Regions from separate parts of the Homo sapiens genome. Here all the other regions are linked to region 7. Evidence: promoter capture Hi-C in 16 types of primary human blood cells and fetal thymus (Javierre and others, 2016). All regions are on one chromosome and are shown on one strand. The core of a region is centred on a gene start or on the middle of the fragment in contact, and the rest is flanking DNA. Distances in the headings are between cores, read along the strand shown. Region 1 overlaps MECR (mitochondrial trans-2-enoyl-CoA reductase). Region 2 overlaps SRSF4 (serine and arginine rich splicing factor 4). Region 3 holds the start of YTHDF2 (YTH N6-methyladenosine RNA binding protein F2). Region 4 overlaps PTPRU (protein tyrosine phosphatase receptor type U). Region 5 holds the start of ZBTB8OS (zinc finger and BTB domain containing 8 opposite strand). Region 6 has its middle 5.5 kb from the start of SRSF4. Region 7 holds the start of MATN1-AS1 (MATN1 antisense RNA 1).

What was found. The method cuts DNA at HindIII sites, captures the fragments that hold promoters and counts their contacts. A CHiCAGO score of 5 or more calls a contact.
Region 1: a contact is called between a fragment that was not itself captured here and the fragment with the promoter of MATN1-AS1 in region 7, in 5 of 17 cell types (activated CD4 T cells, naive B cells, total CD4 T cells and 2 more). The highest score is 10.9, in activated CD4 T cells.
Region 2: a fragment that was not itself captured here is called in contact with the fragment with the promoter of MATN1-AS1 in region 7 in 2 of 17 cell types (naive CD4 T cells and total B cells); the score reaches 6.7 in naive CD4 T cells.
Region 3: a contact is called between the fragment with the promoter of YTHDF2 here and the fragment with the promoter of MATN1-AS1 in region 7, in 2 of 17 cell types (M0 macrophages and M2 macrophages). The highest score is 5.9, in M0 macrophages.
Region 4: a contact is called between a fragment that was not itself captured here and the fragment with the promoter of MATN1-AS1 in region 7, in 17 of 17 cell types (naive CD8 T cells, naive B cells, megakaryocytes and 14 more). The highest score is 36.8, in naive CD8 T cells.
Region 5: the fragment with the promoter of ZBTB8OS here is called in contact with the fragment with the promoter of MATN1-AS1 in region 7 in 1 of 17 cell types (naive CD4 T cells); the score reaches 5.3 in naive CD4 T cells.
Region 6: a fragment that was not itself captured here is called in contact with the fragment with the promoter of MATN1-AS1 in region 7 in 10 of 17 cell types (total B cells, activated CD4 T cells, naive CD8 T cells and 7 more); the score reaches 14.4 in total B cells.

The regions. Positions count from the first base shown.
Region 1 is chr1:29,203,748-29,206,447 of GRCh38, reverse strand. The region is part of intron 4 of MECR (mitochondrial trans-2-enoyl-CoA reductase); the gene reads left to right. Among named protein-coding and RNA genes, the nearest start is that of SRSF4, 23 kb to the right of the region's middle. The HindIII fragment of the contact is 6,958 bases long and covers 1-2,700 here.
Region 2 is chr1:29,169,022-29,171,730 of GRCh38, reverse strand. The region is part of intron 1 of SRSF4 (serine and arginine rich splicing factor 4); the gene reads left to right. It also overlaps a transcript of MECR not described here. Among named protein-coding and RNA genes, the nearest start is that of SRSF4, 12 kb to the left of the region's middle. The HindIII fragment of the contact is 289 bases long and covers 1,271-1,559 here.
Region 3 is chr1:28,735,508-28,738,319 of GRCh38, reverse strand. It overlaps YTHDF2 (YTH N6-methyladenosine RNA binding protein F2), which reads right to left and starts at 1,380. Exons shown (of 5, transcript NM_016258.3): 1 at 1,173-1,380; 2 at 638-662; 3 at 1-61. The coding sequence starts at 1,199. RefSeq lists enhancers at 774-883, 766-1,664, 1,984-2,033, 2,564-2,812. The HindIII fragment of the contact is 4,406 bases long and covers 1-2,318 here.
Region 4 is chr1:29,243,831-29,246,530 of GRCh38, reverse strand. All of the region lies in intron 1 of PTPRU (protein tyrosine phosphatase receptor type U), which reads right to left. Among named protein-coding and RNA genes, the nearest start is that of PTPRU, 8.7 kb to the right of the region's middle. RefSeq lists enhancers at 1,109-1,610, 2,196-2,696, 2,697-2,700. The HindIII fragment of the contact is 3,912 bases long and covers 1-2,700 here.
Region 5 is chr1:32,649,100-32,651,799 of GRCh38, reverse strand. It overlaps ZBTB8OS (zinc finger and BTB domain containing 8 opposite strand), which reads left to right and starts at 1,250. Exons shown (of 7, transcript NM_178547.5): 1 at 1,250-1,367. The coding sequence starts at 1,271. RBBP4 (RB binding protein 4, chromatin remodeling factor) reads right to left here and starts at 592. Exons shown (of 12, transcript NM_005610.3): 1 at 478-592. The coding sequence starts at 493. RefSeq lists enhancers at 1-43, 204-792, 793-1,380, 2,514-2,653 and a silencer at 344-913. The HindIII fragment of the contact is 3,350 bases long and covers 895-2,700 here.
Region 6 is chr1:29,186,012-29,188,711 of GRCh38, reverse strand. It overlaps a transcript of MECR not described here. Among named protein-coding and RNA genes, the nearest start is that of SRSF4, 5.5 kb to the right of the region's middle. RefSeq lists enhancers at 809-1,453, 1,454-2,099. The HindIII fragment of the contact is 2,574 bases long and covers 96-2,669 here.
Region 7 is chr1:30,717,431-30,720,130 of GRCh38, reverse strand. MATN1-AS1 (MATN1 antisense RNA 1) reads right to left here and starts at 1,359. Exons shown (of 4, transcript NR_034182.1): 1 at 566-1,359. It overlaps MATN1 (matrilin 1), which reads left to right. Exons shown (of 8, transcript NM_002379.3): 3 at 1,174-1,396. RefSeq lists silencers at 747-836, 1,397-1,916, 1,957-2,136 and enhancers at 494-1,069, 1,167-1,336. The HindIII fragment of the contact is 4,958 bases long and covers 1-2,700 here.

The sequences.
Region 1 (2,700 bases), core at 172-2,671, 1.5 Mb after region 7:
GATAGACACAGTCCCTATGTTTTCAATAAAATGCTGAACTTAGTGTTAATAATTCCACTCAGCGTTTACATAGCACTTTCCAGTTCACAGAAGTGCGTTGACAGGCATTATCCCCGTTGAGTGCATGAAATCTTCACAGCATTGCAGTAAGGTTGGTACCATCATTGGTTAAGAGCTCAAGCTCTGGGCAGATAACCTGGGTCTGACCCCAGGCTTCACCTTTCCCTGACTGTGAATTTGCCTCTCAAATCATCAGATTTTTCTTCTGTAAAATGGAGAATAAAGAACGTGGAGGGTGAAACACTACAGCATAATACTTCACACAGTGCTGGGCATACAGTGCAGAGACTGTCCGCTGCTTATATTCTTCTTCCCTTTCATAAATGGGAAAACTGAGGTCCAGAAAGGTAAACTATTTGCATGAGATCAGCCAGGGAGTAAATGACAGAGCCAAGTGTTTTTATTTGGGTTTCTCTGAAAGCAGAGCCTAAGACCAGCACTGGGTGCAGAGAGTTTGTTTGGGAAGAAGAAATGAAGGGGAGTGGGGAGAGTGAGACAGAGATGGAGGCAAAGCCCATGAAGCCCGGTTACTGCTGCGGGCAACTACTGCTCCGGCTGTTTTTTTGAGACAGTCGTGCTCTGTCGCCCCGGCTTGAGTGCAGTGGCGTGGGCTCACTGCAACCTCCACCTCTCGGGTTCAAGGGATTCTCCTGCCTCAGCCTCCCAGGTAGCTGAGACTACAGGTGCCTGCCACCATGCCTGGCTAATTTTTGTATTTTTAGTAGAAATGGGGTTTCACCATATTGGCCAGGCTGGTCTCTAACTCCTGACCTTGTGATCCGCCCACCTCAGCCTCCCAAAGTGCTGGGATTACAGGCGCGAGCCACCCACCCCCAGCCGGCCTGCTCAGTCTTGCTGGGGCCCTCTGAAGACTCTCAGAACCCACTGCAGAATTAACCCTTAAGGCCAGGCATGGTGTCTCATGCCTGTAATCCCAGCACTTTGGGAGGCTGAAGCTGGCAGATCACTTGAGGTCAGGGGTTTGAGACCAGCCTGGCCAACATGGTGAAAACCCGTCTCTACTAAAAATACAAAAATTAGCCCGGCGTGGTGGCAGCGCCTGTGACCCCAGCTACTCAGGAGGCTGAGGCAGGAGAATCGCTTGAACCCGGGAGGCGGAAGTTGCAGTGAGCCAAGATTGCACCACCGCACTCCAGCCTGGGCAACAGAGCAAGACACCATCTCAAAAACAAAACAAAACAAAACAAAACAAAAACTAACCCTTGAATGATGAGAGGCTGGGCCAGTTTTCCACTAATTCTCACACCCCATTGTTTAAGGGTCGCCCTAAGGGCATTAACCTCCTGGGCTGCCTCTGCACACCATGCACATCCATGCACATCCGTGAGCCGCAGTGGCTGTAGAACTCACCCAAGCCACCTCTCATACCAGCGAAGAAACTGAGGCCCACAGTTGTTGGAGTGTGATGAAACATGGTGCCCAGCCACTGTCCAAGGCCTGGCTGAAAGCCGATGCCAGTTCCCACAAGAGAAATATAGGTTTCTTGCAACTATGGCAGATGGTTCCTGGGAGCCTTTGGTGGAGAAAGCCAGTGGCTGTGACCAGGGACCTTTGCTGGAGTCCTAGTGCAGCAGACACTTTGTTTGCTTGCATCCCATGCCCTAAAGCCACCTCCCATTTAGGCTGCAGCTGTAGTAACAGATCTAGGCATTTCGACGCTGCCCACCCTAAGTACCCACTGCACACCTCTCCACTTTCCTGCCTCAAGGCTGATATGGCCTGAACTAGATCACTGTTGAATAAACTTAGGATCTTGACACATGGTAAGAATTACATTTTATATTGTGATCAGTTTATACAAATAGGAATATATATATAATGGAAACCAAAGTTTCGTGAAATACCCTTACTATGTGTGACATACTCTGTTATTTTTTATTCTCTTCTCAATTTTAACTTTAAAAAAAAAAGGTGCTTGCAACCAACTAGATTGATTCATAATCCACTGGTGGGTGACAACCTGTACGTTGACCCCTGGTGAAGACGAGTGGGCATTCTTCTTCCAGGAAGTCCTCTATCTCTAGTTTCAGCCCGTTGTGTGACAGATCCCTGCTGCCTCTCAAAAACCAGATAGCATTTCAAATTCAACAAAGCACTTTCCCGGACACGATGCATTTGACTCTAATCGGGGGCACTTTTTTTTTTTAATAGAGGGAGTCTCGCTCTGTCACCCAGGCTGGAGTACAGTGGCGCGATCTCAGCTCACTGCAACCTCCACCTCCCGGGTTCAAGCGATTCTCCTGCCTCAGCCTCCCTAGTAGCTGGGATTATATTTTAAGGGAAGGAAACTGAAGTTCACAGAGGTCATGACTTGCCCTGTCTGTTTAGTTACAATCATTGGTGAAACTGAGACTCATGCCCAGATCTGTCTCATTCCAGAGCCCACATTTTTCCCAGCATGTCACACCGCCTTCCCCAATGGCCAGGTCCAAAGCTAAACCTGGGCTTTGCCACAGAACTGTAGGACCCTGTTTCAGGGGCTGCCAGTTTCTCCAGCGCAGCTGTAATCCCATTTCAAGGCAGTGCACCTTTATTAAACACTGCAGAGAGGAATAGGGCATGACCCTTCCCTCTCAAGAAGCTGCAAGCTGTTGATAGAAATGGACCTATATACAATGA
Region 2 (2,709 bases), core at 166-2,665, 1.5 Mb after region 7:
GCTTCCAGGTACCCAGAACCGCAAATTTTACTTTGAGCTCCTCAGAAGAAAGGTGCTCCAGGCATCTGAGAGAATACCGTTGGGGTGATACTTACAAATTTGTAAGCTAACACTGAAATCTTAAAACTTCCGAAAATATTAATGCATTTGTATGACTTATTTTTCAACTGAGTATGTCAAAGTACTTTATGAACAAGTGTTGTCCCTAGTTTGTACTGATGGGGAAACTGAGGCATGGGGTGATAAGGTGACTGGCCCAAGGTTACAAAATGAGTTATTGACAACTCCGGAAATAGAAGATTTTTTAAATTCCCATACTAGATACATGTGGGCATTGACATTCAAAGCTTCCCTCATGCTATTTCCTTTAGTCCTGTCCTTTGGGGATTGCCTCTGAGGGTGAGAGGGTAGTTCAGGTTTCCGGGCTTGTTCAGCCTTTAGTCTCTGTAGAGGCTTCCAGCAAGCTGACAAGTTACTGCCAAAAGTGAGACAGATGGTATTTTTTATGATGTTGTCCTTAGTTGGAGACTGCTAGTGATTCTCCTCCTCAGGCTACTCTTTGAAAAGCTGTAAGGTGGTATCAGCTTTATCGTGGTTGGCTGAGGAAGGATTTGTACAAGTAAATGTTCTCTGCCTTATTGTCATTCCTAGGGCCGTCTGGTCTTATAGTACCCTGAAGGTGAGGGATTAGATTATGCTCTGAATTTGTATGCCCATAGTTTGAGGAAATGTTTTACTTGAGTTTTCTGTGTGTTGAGATGAAAGTCTCCCAGGCTAAAGATTTCTGAACTGCACGCAATGTCTGAAGAAGCGCTTGAAAGGCACTTTATTTCTCCCAGGTCCCCAACCATGGGTTTAGGTTTTTATGCCAGAAAGGGGACCTTCATGAACAAAGACCCCCAAGACCTAGAGAGAAGAGGAAGTCTGAAAGAGGGAGGTTTGAATTCAGCCTTCAGGAATGAAGAGGGCAGACAGAGCAGGAGGCTCAGGCAAGGGAGTCAGGAACCACAGACCAGAAACATGGACTTGGAAAGGTTTTCATGTAATTGAAATGAAGCTATTGATCCATCCATTTTAAAAGAATTTGAAAAATTCATTAAAATACTTAATTAGTGGCATCCACTAATTAATAAAAGCATAGGGAGTGGCATCTTTAACCAAAAATGAAAATGAAGAAACAGACTCCAGCCCAGGGACCAGGGGCGATTATGAGGGACATGGTGCCTCATACAGCCAAGATGATCCAAGAGGCATCATCTTTAATGAAGCTTTAACACCTGGCAGCCTGCTCATTGTGTTGTTTAAGAGGTAAGTATGAACTGGTTTTGTTTGTAGCTTTTGTGTGGAATCAGGTAGTGCTGTCTGCAGAGTGTAAACCTTTATTTCTTTAAGTAGGAATAACAGATAAAGTAATTCTATATTAAATCCCAAGAGTTTTATTCTAAATTGGTAATGTGACTTTCATCTCTCGAGTTTTTTCAAATCGTTTTTAATTTGTGGTTGAGTCTTCACGAACTTCTTGTCATCAGGCAATAGTTGATTCCCCTTTTTTGAAAGCTTTCAATTTCATTTATCCTTAGTGTTGAAAAGTGTCAGAAAATTGAAATGGACACAGATGATTGTATCTGCCCTCCCTTTCAGGAAAGCCATGTTGACTTTAAAATATCAAAAAAGAAAGTTCAGTTATGATTGCAGGGGGTAATGATAGTTTGATCCACAAACTATTTGCAGTGTAAAAGTGAAATACCTTAGCTGACTTAGTTCATTTTTGAAAGTTTTGAATAGCTAAAACAAAGTTGGCAAATAGGCTCATAGAGTAGTTACAGAGTAAGACTAAATTCATATTTGATGCAGATTCCTCTCTACCTCCCATTCTGGGAGGATTTAGTTTTACTGTTTGGTGTTTAGGATAATGATTGTTCTGTTTTTCTCACCCTACTATGTGAATATATATTCTGTTAGAGATGGGCTGTTATCTGCAATGTGGACTCAATACCATGGGCTTGAGTTTGGTTAGTTCATCATTAGAGATTTTTTTTCAGCAGTTGGTTTACTTTATGAGAAAGGATCATGAGTTTAATTTTCCCACTGATATATTTGTGTTCTCATTGCTGAGATATAAGTTTCTTAATGATTTGTTACCTTTTTCTATTTTCCTAGACTAGTATTAAAATTTTGATGGCATATGGGTTTGGTTCCACTTGTAGAGAATAAATGTTCACAACTTACTGGTATTAGCACACACACATCACATGCAGAAATGGTGTTTTCTTGCCACTTACTCTTTCTCATAAGATGCTTATATTCCTGTGGGCATTTGTCTTCCACACTACAGCACATAATTTGATGAAACTGATTTTCTGTGCAAGAGCTTGTGTTTCTCCAACTCTGGTTTTATGGACCACTTTTCATTGGTATATAGGAGGCGGTTAAAACGTGGTGGTAGAATGCAGGTTTTAGGTTAGCTGGGTGTGAAGAATCCCAGGTCTTTGGGATAGTCTTGGCAAGTTACTCAACTCCTCTAAGTTAGTTTCTTGATCTGTCAGATGACAGTAAACCTCAGAGTTGTGAAAATTAAATGGATATAATGTGTGTAAAGCACTTAGCATAATGCTTTATACATCGTAAAACTTTCAAAAATAGGAGTAGTAATTATTACAAAGAAATGTGAAGAAGAGTCCTAGTGGGCTGCATGTTAAAAATAGTTTT
Region 3 (2,812 bases), core at 131-2,630, 2.0 Mb after region 7:
AAGTAAGGTTCAAAATCATCATCGTTTAATCCATCCTTTTGATGTACAGATCCATTTTGTACTAAAGAAAAAAAAATTCAATTAGGAGTGTCCCAATCCTACAATCTTCCTTTCAAATTAGTTCATATATGCTAACCAGAGAAAAACCTTACTAGTTAACAAAGCACGTAAGATTGAACTTCAAAAGGGTAAGAGATGACAGTGAATGCTGAAGCGACAGTCGCCAGTGAAAATGTCCCCCTCCACCCAGAGCAAGTTGATCTAAAAAGGTCATTTTATTGGCTCCTCTGGATTTCCATTCCCTCCCGCTTCCCCTCCCCCATCACATGAGAGTACTTCCAGAGAGTGATCCACGAGGATGAAAAACAAAGGCCTTCTAAGACCTACAGGAAACTAAGGACCTGGAGCGTTTCAAAACCCAATCCACCCCCACCCTTAATGAATTACTCCTTGTTAGCGAAAAAGCTGTTCGCCAGCTGCAAGAACACACCGAAAGGGTCAAAATACTTAAGTGTGCGGCACCTGCGAACTAAGCGGCTTCCGAAAGGTCCTCCGCCCGGGGCGCTTCCCGGAGACCCCGCCCCCACCGCCCCGCGTCCCCCTCCCGGCTCAGGGCCACCGGCGGAGCGGGACTTACCTTTGTTTCCTTGACCTTTTGGTCTCTGCAGGGGAAGGAAACGTCGCCGAGCAGCAAGTTGTCCAAAGGAGAAATGGAAAAGGAAGAACAAATTAAGGCAGGGCCCGAAGGGAGAATAAAGGAGCAGGCCCGAGGGGAGGCGTCAGGAATGGTAGTGAGGAAGAGGCTGAAAATGGGAGGCGGGGGAAAGCGCCAGGCCCGTGGGGCAGGGGAGAAAACGCGGCAGACGCGCCACCGGCGACGCGAGGAACCCAGGGCTTTAAGGAAGGGGAAGGAAACAAGGAAGGAAAACGAGGCCCGCCGAGAGAAGGGAACGCGGCGCGGCCCGGCCCGTGGGCTCCGAGGCCCGAGGAGAAGCGGGAAGAACAGGCTGAGGGAGAGGCGCCGGGCGCGGCCGGCCTGAGAGGCCCGAAACCTGGCCCGCAAGAGACGACGCCTCGGCTCGGCTCGGCCTGCCCAGGAGCGGCGGGCCCGGGCCTAGTCGGGCTCCTTCTCGCCTCACACAATGGCCGAGGCATGCGGGCCGGGCCTGTACCTGCTCCAAGAGGCTGCTGGCCGACATGGCTCTCAGATCCTCACGGGCGGCGACGGCGGCGAACTCTCCTCAGCGCGGCGGCGGCGGCAGATGAGCCCCGTCTGCGGGAGCAGGCGGAGGCTTTTGTCCCTGACACTCGGGGGCCTCGGCGGACGCAGCGGAGACACAGCGCGCGGCTCAGGCTCCGGCTCCGACTCGGCGACGCTCTAGCCCAAGAGCTCAATGCCCGTCTCTATGCTTTTACGCGCGCGCCCGCCCCCCACCGCCTAAAGCAGAGCGCCGAACAGCGGAGGCGGGCGGCGCGCGCGGCGCGAGCGCTGACTCTCACATTCACTCACCCACGCGGAAGGGGCCCGGCGCGAAGAACCCCGGGAAGGGAGAGGCCGGCCGCTGCGCCCTCTGGCGGATTGGAGGAGCGGAAGCCGTGCTCACGGCCTCCCCGCCCCCACCGCCCCAGGATTAAGGCCTAGGGGGTTTGGGACGACCAGGGTCGCACCACGAGGTTTCGACTAACACCTGGAAAGACTAGCTCTGGCTTCAGAAGAACGACAAAAGCCGGTTTCTCAGTGAGGGAGGGGCCTCCGAAGCCCGCGAGACCTTAAAATGAACCTGCCTTCCAGCTGCAAGTGATACCCCACCCCCATCTGGGAGGTAACCCGACCCCTAGGGAGTCACACAGTCCCCAGGGAAACTTCATGGGGGCCCTGTCCGGGAGTGACCCGCCCCCGCCCCCGCGAGGGGCTTGGTCATCCTCTGTTAGCCGACTACAGAAAGAGTACCCAGAGAGCAAAACACACACCGAAAGAATCCAGTCTCCCGCAAAAGAGATTCACCCCTTAGCATTGCAGGAAGGAGAATCTACAATTTATTTTCGGGGAAATCGCTGGCCCCAAGATAATCTGTTAAATTGTGGACTTTATTTCCAAGAAAAATACACCTCATGCATCTACACAAAACTTTCAAGGAGTCCGGAGAACCTATGAATCTTAAGGACCTCAAGAGGGAAGCAAGGAAATTAACATTATTGAAATACCAGCTGTGGGCCAGGCTTTGTTGTTAGGTATTTTCAAACACATTAAAGTCTTTCGACAACTTCAAAATCGCTATCAGTCTTTCGGTTTTTTACGACTGGAAAAACAGAAAGCTTAAGTAATGTGCCCAAGTTTACAAAACTATTAAATAGCCAGGTGTATCTGACACTAACATAATGGTATCTCTCTACCCCTACGAGACTCTGTATTAGGGAACCAGAATATAGGGGAGATGCAAAGGATGGGCAAAAGTATTTTCAATCAGAAGCAAAGCCAACTCATGCAGGAATATTTGATACTAGGAAAGCCCATCTAATAGCTTTTGTTATTGCAAGTACGTCGTGGTAAACAGGTAACTAATGCACTAATTGTCAACCTCGTACTATCCACACGCTGGATATAGGAGGCTTGGGTGGACTCGGTAAAATAAATAACATGGCATCTTGGATTTAACATCATAATTTGGTCAAAGTGCTCAAAGCACTTTTTTTCTCTGCCCATAATCACATTTATGGTAGGAATGAGTAAGGTCAGGCACCAAAGGTGAAGGACTTTTAATGGAGACAGTAAAATGTCAAGTCTGGGAGCATAGATTCCATCAAGGGAATA
Region 4 (2,700 bases), core at 84-2,583, 1.5 Mb after region 7:
GTTGCAGGGTAGAGGCCCTGGGCAGTAATCCTGTGCAGTGCACGAATGCAATGTCAGATACTGTGCAGTGGTGCTGCCTTTGCAAACCTAAGCCAGTCCTGAAGCCCAAGAAAGTGGTCCCAAGCTGTACTATAGATATAGACTCCCTGAGTCATGTGCAACGTGGGGCAGTGAGGACACTCAATGCAAAGATGTTGTTCACGTAGGGCTGACAACAAAAACCTGGAAAAGGACGCCAGCCTACAGATACCATGGTGGTAGGAGCGTGAAAGGCCAGGACACCATAGGGGCAGCGTTTCAGCAGCAGTGGTGCAGTGCAAGGGCTGGGCCATGAGGCACATATCCAGTGCAGCAAAGCAGTGCACATGCACAGAAGTGCTATATGGGGCAAAGTGCACTGTTGGTACAATGCAACTGTGGAATGCAGAGGGGCCATGCCCAGAAACTCAGGAAAAGTTCACAGTCCTGATGCAATACTGACGTCCATGCAATAGTGCAGTGCAGTACAGAGATGCTGTGTGATGCCAAGATGCAATGTTGTGGTAGCATGCCATCTGTTGGCACGGTGCAGTGCTGCAATGCGAGGAGCTATGCCCAAACCCCAAAAGAGTCCATGTGCCCAATGCAATGTAGACTGCCTGGTGAGGCAATGGGGTGCAGAATATAAATGCTCTATGACACAAACATGCAATGTGGCCACAGAAAACCATGTGTTGATCTCAGACAGTGGTGCAGTGTGAGCAGCTCCGCCCAGAAACCCAGGAGAATTCACCTTCCCAATGCAACACTGACATCCAGCAGAGTGACACAGTATACAAGAGAGCAGCAAAGACACACACATGGCAGGACCATGGCAGGATCATGGCAGGATGGAGGCACGGTCCAATGGGACAATGCAGAGGCAGAGCATGCAGAAACTCAGGAGAACGCACACCCTCAATGCAATGCAGCAATCCCAGTGAAGTAGAGGGCTGAGACACAGGGCTGTGCAAGGAGGCTGGACCCAGGAATCCCAGACAGTGCACATCCAGAGCAGTCCAGAGCCTGGCACGCTGCAACAGTGTTGCTGGGAGGGTCATGATGCCTCCCTGTGATGCACTGGAGGAGAGGGGAGCTCAGATCCCTGGAAAACTCTCTACCTACAGCTCTGCCCGGCCACGCTGGCTCACCCCACAAGTTGGGGGCCGAAATCTCATCTGGCTTGTCTCCCTCCCTCCAACATCTTCCACCCCAGTGACTCTCCAAGGGCAAAGGCTGAAGCCACTGCCACCCACAGGATAGGCCATCTAGAATCGAGCACATTGTCCAGGTATTATAACTGAGCAGAATCCCAGCATGCTGGCAGGAAAACAATGAATTCAAATTCTGCTGGTAAAGCTCTCAGACAATTAAAGTACAGCCCCTGGCCCCCAGCCCAGGGCAGGACAGAGGAGAGATAGAGAGAAAGACCTATTATTGGATAAGGCCCTGGGACAGGGTGAGCAGGAAGTAGGATGAACAAGAGGTTAGGATGTCAGAGAAGAGCCAGACTCAATCAACCTGGCTAGGCACTCCCCAACCACCACCCCCGTCCCCACCACTATTACTCCCTCCCAGGCCTGGACTTCATCAGAAACCAAGAACAAACTTTTCTGGGCACACAGGATGACCGCACGCATGCAAATACACACATCATAACAGTGATCACTTACACAGTGCTTACTATGTGCAGGACCTGTTCTAACCTACATAATCATAACCATAAAACATATCCTCATGACAAACGCATGCAGTGTGTCCTATTATTATCCCCATTCCACAAATGAGAACTCTAAGGGCCCAGAGAGGTCAGTAACTTACCAAAGTATCACACAGCTAGAAGTGGTGGGCTTAGGATTAGAACCCAGATGGTCTGGGCCCTGAACCCATGCTCTTAACCACCACACGCTAGACAAACACATATTGACAGGCATGCCCAGCCACAAGTCCACATGCACGCTCCTGTAAACACACATACATACACATTCTAAGCAATGTATTTCCCACTCTCAGCTGAGACTCACCTGTCCTATCCACTAGGTTTCTGATAGCTCCCAGTTGTCACCTCTTATCTCCACCTCTTATCTTATCACCCACATCTCCTTGTTCTATCATCCACCTGTCCCCCAACCCTCAGTTGTTCCCCCAATACCGCCTGTCCCTTCACTGTCAGCTGTCCCATCCCCCAGGTATATCTTTCCCACCAGCTATCTTCTATCCGCCAGTGGTCCCCCAGGCCTCAGCTGTCACCCACCACAGTGGACATCTGACAGTGTGCTGCGGTTTTCCGTCTCCTTTTTCCACTAGTCTGGGAGCCCCCGGGGGCTGAGCTGTCACCCCACCCCTAGCTTTAATCTTGCCCTGTCAAATATCCTCAGCATCTCCCCTTCCTAACAGCCCCATCTCAATCTTTCTCCCCAGCTTCTGCCCTCAAACTCCCAAGCCTCAGCGGCCCTCCAAGCCCCCTTTCTCCTTGTCCCTTCTGAGTCATCACAAGGTCTTGTGGTTTGCATCTTGGGAATCTGCCCAAGACCTCCTGCGTCATCTGGAAGCAGCATCTTCTGAGCTGTCCCCCTCAGGGGTCCTCCCACAGTCATTCTGCAGGAAATGGCAGCCCCCAACCCAGAGCCAGAGGAGGAGGCATAGCCAGCCCACCCATGACTGTGCTGCAGAACCCCAGCT
Region 5 (2,700 bases), core at 1-2,500, 1.9 Mb before region 7:
AAATCCCCACGGCAGAGGCATCCACACTCTCCACTTTCGCGGCGCCGAAACTCCTCGGGCCATCCCCGCCAAACACTCCGTTACCCGTTCCAGGCCAAGGGGCCAGCCAGGCCTTCGGAGCACGCTCGTGCGCGCCGAAACTCACAAGCCCGACGAGGAGGCCCGAGCTCCGAGCCTTGTGGGTAGGAAGCGGTGTCCCCACGCTCGGGACAGAGGCCGAGAAACCGATATCGGAGGCAGGAAGAGAAACAAACACTGGCCGGGGGCCCCACCGCTGGCTTCGCCAGCTGCGACCGAAATCGGTCCCAGGGAACTGGCGAGCCGTTAGCACGCCCCGCGGGGAGTTCCCTCTTCACGCCTTCAGTACCGGGGACTGCACTCGGCAAACTCGGGCCTGCCCTCACTGTTAGGCCATGTCGAGGCCGCGGCTCAGCCCAGGCACCCACTGCCCTCCTGGGTCGGCCCCGGCACCCTCACCTTCCTTGTCGGCCATGGCGGGCAGGCGAGCCGGGGGAATCCTGGGGTCGAGCGTTGCGGGAGGGGCGGGGAGGCTGCAAGAGCTCGCTCTGTGCGCGCGGCCTCTATTGTTTCCTGCGCCCCCAGCGCGAGGGCTGACTCGCGCACCTTCGCGCCAACATCAGCCAATGGGAGCGCTCCTAATGGCGGGATGGGCGGGGAAGCCGCGTTCGCGACCAATCCAGACGCGCGGAGTAGCTTTCCGCGGGGACCGAGGCGCGCGCTCCGCCCCTCCCCCCACGCCTCCCCGAGCCGACTTCCAGCGATTGCGCGCGCCGGCGTTGACGGGACTGCGCCCGGTCAGGGTCACGTGAGAGAGGTTTGGTCCGCACACTCCCGCGGCAAGAGGGCAGCCATTTTCTTGAAGGCTATTAAGCTTACGACCCTTTCAGAGTACTGAGATGAAAAATCTAGAATGCCTTCGGGTCTAGTTATCAATTTTGGGGGTGAAGCGGGGGAAAGAACCTCGCCAGTCAGACCCAGACGGGTTTCATTCAAGGTGCCCTTCAACGTTTTTCCTTAGTCTTTGGAAAGAACTAGTAATGAAGGAATCGCAGAAGATGGGGTTTTGGCTTTTTAAATATGCGATCCAAGCGGCAGGGTAGGGACTAAAGTAGGTCAACAGCCAACTCCGAGAAAGGAGTGTGGTCCTTTAAGGGTGTGCGCCAAGGGGCGGAGTCTAGAGCGGAAGTAGTAACTCCGGGCCGAAGTCCGGTGGATGAAGGGCGGAAGTAGAGTGTCTAATCCTGCAGTCATGGCGCAGGAAGAGGAAGATGTTAGAGATTACAATTTGACTGAAGAACAGAAGGCGATCAAGGCCAAGTATCCGCCAGTCAATAGGAAGTACGAGTGTGAGTAGGTGGCTTACTTCTCTCTTTACATGTAAGCACACAGGCATCCCCTCTCCTTACCCGCGGCTTCCTGCTGCTCTTTCTACTGTGCCCCATGGGTACTTCAGGCATGATCCCATTTGTGCCGGCTGTTGTAGTCGCGTTCGTACTTCTCCTGGGGATGCTGAAGGAAAAAGCCACCTGGTTTAATAGTCGCGAAACCTGGCCTCCCTCATTTACAGTCTCTTGAACTTCTTCCACATGTGCCTAATCACATTTATCTTCGTAAATTCTAAAGATAACCATATTTTCAGGCGTTTGCAGGGTTGTTACCCCCATGTATTTCCCAACGGTGAGATTAGAGTGTGCGAGGTTAGAGGACTCGGAAAGCTAATTAGGGGATTTCTAACTTGATGTTTCACCTCGATCATATTAGCAAAAAACCTGGTTTTGCCATTTATGATTGTGATTTTTAAAAATGATTATTTTAGGCCGGGCTCGGTGGCTGAGGCCTGTGATCCCAGCACTTTGGGAGGCCGAGGCGGGCGGATCACCTGAGGTCGGAAGTTCGAGATCAGCCTGACCAACATGGAAAAACCCCGTCTCTACTAAAAATACAAAATTAGCTGGGCGTGGTGGAGCATGTCTGTAATCCCAGCTACTCGGGAGACTGAGGCAGGAGAATCGCTTGAACCCGGGAGGCGGAGGTTGCGGTGAGCCGAGATCGCCCCATTGCACTCCAGCCTGGGCAACGAGCGAAACTCTGTCTCAAAAAAAAAAAAAAATGTGTGTGTGTGTGTGTGTGTGTGTGTGTGTGTGTTTTTAGAGATGGGGTCTCGCTCTGTCGTCCAGGCTGGAGTGCAATGGAGCGATCATAGCCCGCGCTGCAGTGCCCAGCTGGTTTTGCCATTTATTCGCTTAGTGACTTTAGGCAAATCACATAACCTATCTTTGTCTCTTAAATTCTATATTAAACGTTAAGCTGTCATCCCTAAAGGTAGCTGTGGTTTGGGGAGCACAAATCTGACTTTTATTTATCTGCTTAAAATCTTTCATTAATTTCTCATTGTCCTCTCTGTAAAATCTACTTATTTACCATAGTATTCTAGGCAATGTGCTTTCTGGAGCTGGCATACCTCCTAGCATATCCCCTTCTCTCACTTAAAAACAATTTTAAAATATTATAGGCCGTTTGCGGTGGCTCACACTTATAATCCCAGCACTTTGCGAGACTGACGTGGGTGGATCACCTGAGGTCAGGAGTTCCAGACCAGCCTGGCCAACATGGTGAAACCCCGTCTCTACTAAAAATACAAAAATTAGCTGCGCATGATGGTGGGCGCCTGTAATCCCA
Region 6 (2,700 bases), core at 133-2,632, 1.5 Mb after region 7:
GCCAAGATCGCGCCATAGCACTCCATCCTGGGCAACAAGAGTGAAACTGTCTCAAAAAAAAAAGACAAATAGGCATTACCTGCTAAAAAAAAGCTTGAGCGCACCTGAAGCCCTGCAGCTTCCTGACTCTGCCATCTCTCCCTGTCCTCTTCTGGGACCATCCACCCAGTGACTACCTATAGTTGCTGCCACAATATTGGTAAATGGAGGCCAGGCGCAGTGGTTCATGCCTTTAATCCTAACACTTTGGGAGGCCAAGGCAGGCAGATAGCCTCAGGTCAGGAGTTCGAGACCAGCCTGAGCAACATGGAGAAATCCTGTCTCTACTAAATTAATTTGTACTAAAAATACAAAATTAGCCGGGCGTGGTGGCAGGCACCTGTAATCCCAGCTCGTTGGGATGCTGAGGTAGGAGAATTGCTTGAACCCAGGAGGTGGAGGTTGCAGTGAGCCAAAATTGCACCACTGCATTCCAGCCTGGGCAACAGAGTGAGACTCCATTTCAAAAAAAAAAGTAAACTCCAAATCCTTCCCATGATCCTTGAGGCCCCTCAAGATCTGGTCTCTCCAGGAGTTCGAGGCTAGCCTGGCCAACATGGTGAAACCCCATCTCTACTAAAAATACAAAAATTAGCCAGGCATGGTGGTGTGCGTCTTTTTTTTTTTTTTTTTTTTGAGACAGAGTCTTGCTGTGTTGCCCAGGCTGGAGTGCAGTGGCACAATCTCAGCTCACTGCAAGCTCCGCCTCCTGGGTTCACGCCATTCTCCTGCCTCAACCTCCCGAGTAGCTGGGACTACAGGCGCCCACCACCACGCCTGGCTAATTTTTTTGTATTTTTAGTAGAGATGGGGTTTCACCATGTTAGCCAGGATGGTCTCGATCTCCTGACCTCATGATCCACCCACCTGGGCCTCCCAAAGTGCTGGGATTACAGGCGTGAGCCACCTCGCCTGGCCTGTGGCGTGCATCTTTAGTTCCAGCTACTTGGGAGGCTGAGGCAGGAGAATCGCTTGAACCCAGGAAGCAGAGGTTGCAGTGAGCTGAGATCGCACCACTGCACTCCAGCCTGGGTGACAGAGTGAGACTCTGTCTCAACAAAAAAAGGAAAAAAAATTTGATAAATGTGTTTTCTTGGGATATGAGATAATTACGCACACTTTCCTCAGGGGAAGACTGAGGCCGAGAAGAATAAAGCTCTTGCGGCCAGGCATGGTGGCTCACGCCCGTAACCCAGCACTTGGGGAGGCTGAGGTGTGCAGATCACCTGAGGTCAGGAGTTCGAGACCAGCCAACATAGTGAAACACAGTCTCTACTAAAAATACAAAAAAAATTACCCAGGCATGGTGGCTCATGCCTGTAGTCCCAGCTACTCGGGAGGCTGAGGCACGAGAATCGCTTGAACCCGGAGGCGGAGGTTGCAGTAAGCCGAGATCTCACCACTGCACTCTAGCCTGGGCAACAGAGTGAGACTCGGTCTCAAAAAAGAAAAGAGAAAAGCTCTTGCGTTAACCTGTGTGTGCCAGGCTGTACTTGTGCATGGAAACTCTCAGAACACCCACCAGCCCCATGCTTATTGTCAGGCACCATGCCCTGAGTAAAGCACTAGGCCAAGCCACAGCAGCTGGAAATGGTGGAGAAGAGAAGGCTCAGTCCTGGCACAACATCTGCTTGCATCTGAAGGCAGGAACATTCCTGGGAAGACAGCAGGGCTAGCTGAAAGGTAAGTGGAAAGGAGACATTGGCACCTTATGAAAGAGAAAAAAGAGATTCTTAGAAATTTCCTATGTCATTGAGATGTTAATGTCACCACTTTACAGAAGCAGCAGCCTCCCAGAGATGTGAAGTGAGTTGTTCCAGATCACACAGCAGGCAGCAGAGCTGGCACTAGAAGCCAGATCCCCTGACCATATCTGGTCACTACAGCAGACAGTCCCAATTCTTTTGGCTCCACAGGTGGCCTTGGAGGTCCCACTCTTCTCACGAGTCCTTGATTTTGTTCTTGACATGTCAACTGGAAGAGCATTCAAATTTCCCTGAGTCTGTGTCTCATGGGGAGGCATGAGAAAAAGGCAGAATCAGGAGGCCATTGAAGTAGTCCAGGTAAGAGATTATTTATGTATTCATTCAATAAGTATTTTAAACGCTCTTTATGTGAAAGGCACTGTTGTTAGGGGCTAGGGATAGAGCAGGAAACAAAAAACATGGCCCCTGAGACCAGCGAGCTTACATTCCAGTGGTGGAGAAAGACCATGCACAAGTAAATAAATAAACCAGGTAATTACAGACTGTGTAGTAAGTGTTGTGAAATATGACAAACAACACTTGAAATAAGGTGGACATGGAAGGCCTCAGGCCTGAATAAGAAGGAGCCAGCTGTATTCCAGGCAGAGGAAGTAGCGCATATCAAAGCCCTGACTGTGAACAGTCTGATGAGGCCTGAACTAGTTTAGGAAGTAGGAATGGAAAGAAGGAATGAATCTGTGAATATTTAGAAGGAATAATCAGAAGGACAGACTGAATGCAGTGGTTGAAGGTTGAACTTTGGCACCTCGCTGATGGTGGTGCCACTTGCATTGGGGAAGGAGGAGCAGGTTTTAGGGACAAGCATTTCCCCTCTGGAGGGCTCTCTTTCCCATCTGTACAATAGGTTAATATAACAACCAAGCTTAGTGCTAGGATTTTTGTTTTCGTGGTTTTT
Region 7 (2,700 bases), core at 110-2,609:
GGAGGCAGTGGGCCTCGGGATGGCAGCGAATAGTCACAGCTAGATTTTCAGAGCCAGGAGCCCAGGCCCCTGGAGAGGAAGAGATTGTACAAAGTCACTCCCCAGGTAGCCCAGGGTAATGATGGTAAAAATAATAGTTGCCCCTTCTGGCTTCTAACCAGGAGTCATCTCACTCAACCTCACCACAACCCTTTTTACAGTTGAAGACACTGAGGCTCAGGAAGGTGACCTGTAGCTTGTGGAGCTGCATTTCTAAACACGGCCTGTCTCAACTGCCTGTCATCAGGACAGGGTGTCAGGACCTGGGGCTAAGGATGGGACCCAGGAATCAGAAACAGACCCAAGTCAGAAGCAGAGAAGCAGCAAAGCGGGACTGGATGCCTAACCCAGACTGGGCAGAGCTGGGAGCGCCCTAGCCTCAGGGCGGGTGCAGACAGGGGGTCACGAAGCCGGATCTCAGTGACAGAGTCCGCCACCTCTTTCTTTCCAGGGTACAGACCAGAGGAGCCTAGTGGGAGGGGAGCAGGCAGATTCTTTCCCTCTCTGGCAGGGGCATGTATCATACCGGGGAGTGGAGGAGGATAAGGGCGGCATCTTTCTTGGGTTGGTCCCTTGGGCATCCACATGGGAGTGGCCCTCCGTCGGTTCCCTGGTCCAGGGTCCCCGGTCTTACCGGGACAAGGACAGCAAGACGGGAGACGGCAGCCCCATCCCTTAGCTTCGGCTGCCATCTGGTGGCCAAAGCGCAGAACTGCACCATGTGGAACCACCGGATCCCCCCACCCAGCCCCGGCCGGGCCTCCCGGGGGCACGAGGGGCGTGGCACGACTCCCACAGCCATCAGCCTGAGGACCCTGCCCTCAGCCGCCTCAGTCTGAGGGGAAGGCATGGCCCTGACCTTAGAGACCCCAATTTGGCGATGGGGCATCACATCCCTCCGGGCATCTCAGAGCTGCCTGCCCGAGGGAGGCGAAGCAGATGGAAAGCCCCCCAGCCACGTCTCTCAGTCAGAGGAAACGGGTCTCCTCTTCGGCCAGCCGGGTCCTCTTCCCCCGGGTGCCGCCTGGCTGTGCGACCCGGCAGTCCTCCCGCCTCTCCGGGCCTCAGCCTCCTCTCCTGGACAGTCCCGTGGGCTTCCGGGAGCCCGGTGTCACACCGCCCCGCGTGTCGCAGGTGGTCATCGTGGTGACAGACGGGAGGCCCCAGGACAGCGTGCAGGACGTGTCTGCGCGGGCCCGGGCCAGCGGCGTCGAGCTGTTCGCCATCGGAGTGGGCAGCGTGGACAAGGCCACGCTGCGGCAGATCGCCAGCGAGCCGCAGGACGAACACGTCGATTACGTGGAGAGCTACAGCGTCATCGAGAAGCTGTCCAGGAAGTTCCAGGAGGCCTTCTGCGGTGCGCGGGCAGGCGGGGGCGGAGCCAGGGCAGGGGCGGAGAAGGGGAGAGCGGCGGGGCGGGGCCAGGGCTGGAGGCGGGACCGAGGCTGAGGCGCAGACGGAGCCAGCGCCGGCGCAGGGCAGGGGCGGGGCCGGGGGGGGGGCAGAGGCGGAGACGGGAGAGAGATAGAATGTCAGTGCCGGGGCGGGGCCGGGGAGGAGCCGGGGGCGGAGGCGGAGACGGAGAGAGTCAGCGCCGGGGCGGGGCAAGGGTGGGGCCAGGGCAGGGGCGGAGACGGAGAGAGCGGCGGGGCGGGGCCAGAGCAGGCAGGGGGCGGGGCCAGGGCAGGGGCGAAGACGGAGACAGTCAGTGCCAGGGCGGGACCGGGGCGGAGGCGGAGAGAGTCGGCTCCAGGGGCAGGGCCAGGGCTGAGCGGGACGAGGCCGTGGCAGGCGCAGAGACTGAGAGTCCGCGCTGAGGCGGGCCAAGGCTAGGGGCGGAGCCAGCGCTAAAGTGAAGACAGAAAAAGTCAGCGTCGGGGGGCGGGGCCACATCAGAGGGCGGGGCCTGGCTGGGGCGGTAGCCTATAAAACGGCGGGAACTGAGTTACACGGCAACATCAGGGCGGGGCCAGGGCTAGGGACACGGCTTAGGTGGATTGGGGGTGGAACCTGGATTAGACTGAGGTGGTGCCAGCACCAGGGGTGGGGCCGTAGCTGGGGCGGAGCCTGATAACGGAGGAGGGTCTCCAGCCCCAGGTTAAGGGAGTTGGGGAGAGGCGATGTTAAGAGTCCTTTTATGGCCGGGCGCGGTGGCTCACGCCTGTAATCCCAGCACTTTGAGAGGCCGAGGCGGGCGGATCACGAAGTCAGGAGATCGAGACCATCCTGGCCAACATGGTGAAACCGGTCTCTACTAAAAATACAAAAAATTAGCCGGGCGTTGTTGCGGGCGCCTGTAGTCCCAGCTACTCGGGAGGCTGCGCCAGGAAAACGGCGTGAACCCGGGAAGCGGAGCTTGCAGTGAGCCGAGATCGTGCCACTGCACTCCAGCCTGGGCGACAGAGCGAGACGACTCCGTCTCAAAAAAAAAACAAAACAAAAAAAAAAACCGCACACACAAAAAACAACAGAGCCCTTTTATGTGGCAGAATCCTGGCAGGGACCAAGGAGGGCCCAGAGCTCAGGAAGGAGAGCTCCCAGAAAACCTACACATGTTTCTGTGTCGTGAGTTTTGGGTGCCAGAGTTTTCTGTGATGCGGGAGAGTCTGAGAGGCCTGGGCACTGGCAGGAGAAGGTTCAGAGCCCTTCTCGGAGGGGAGG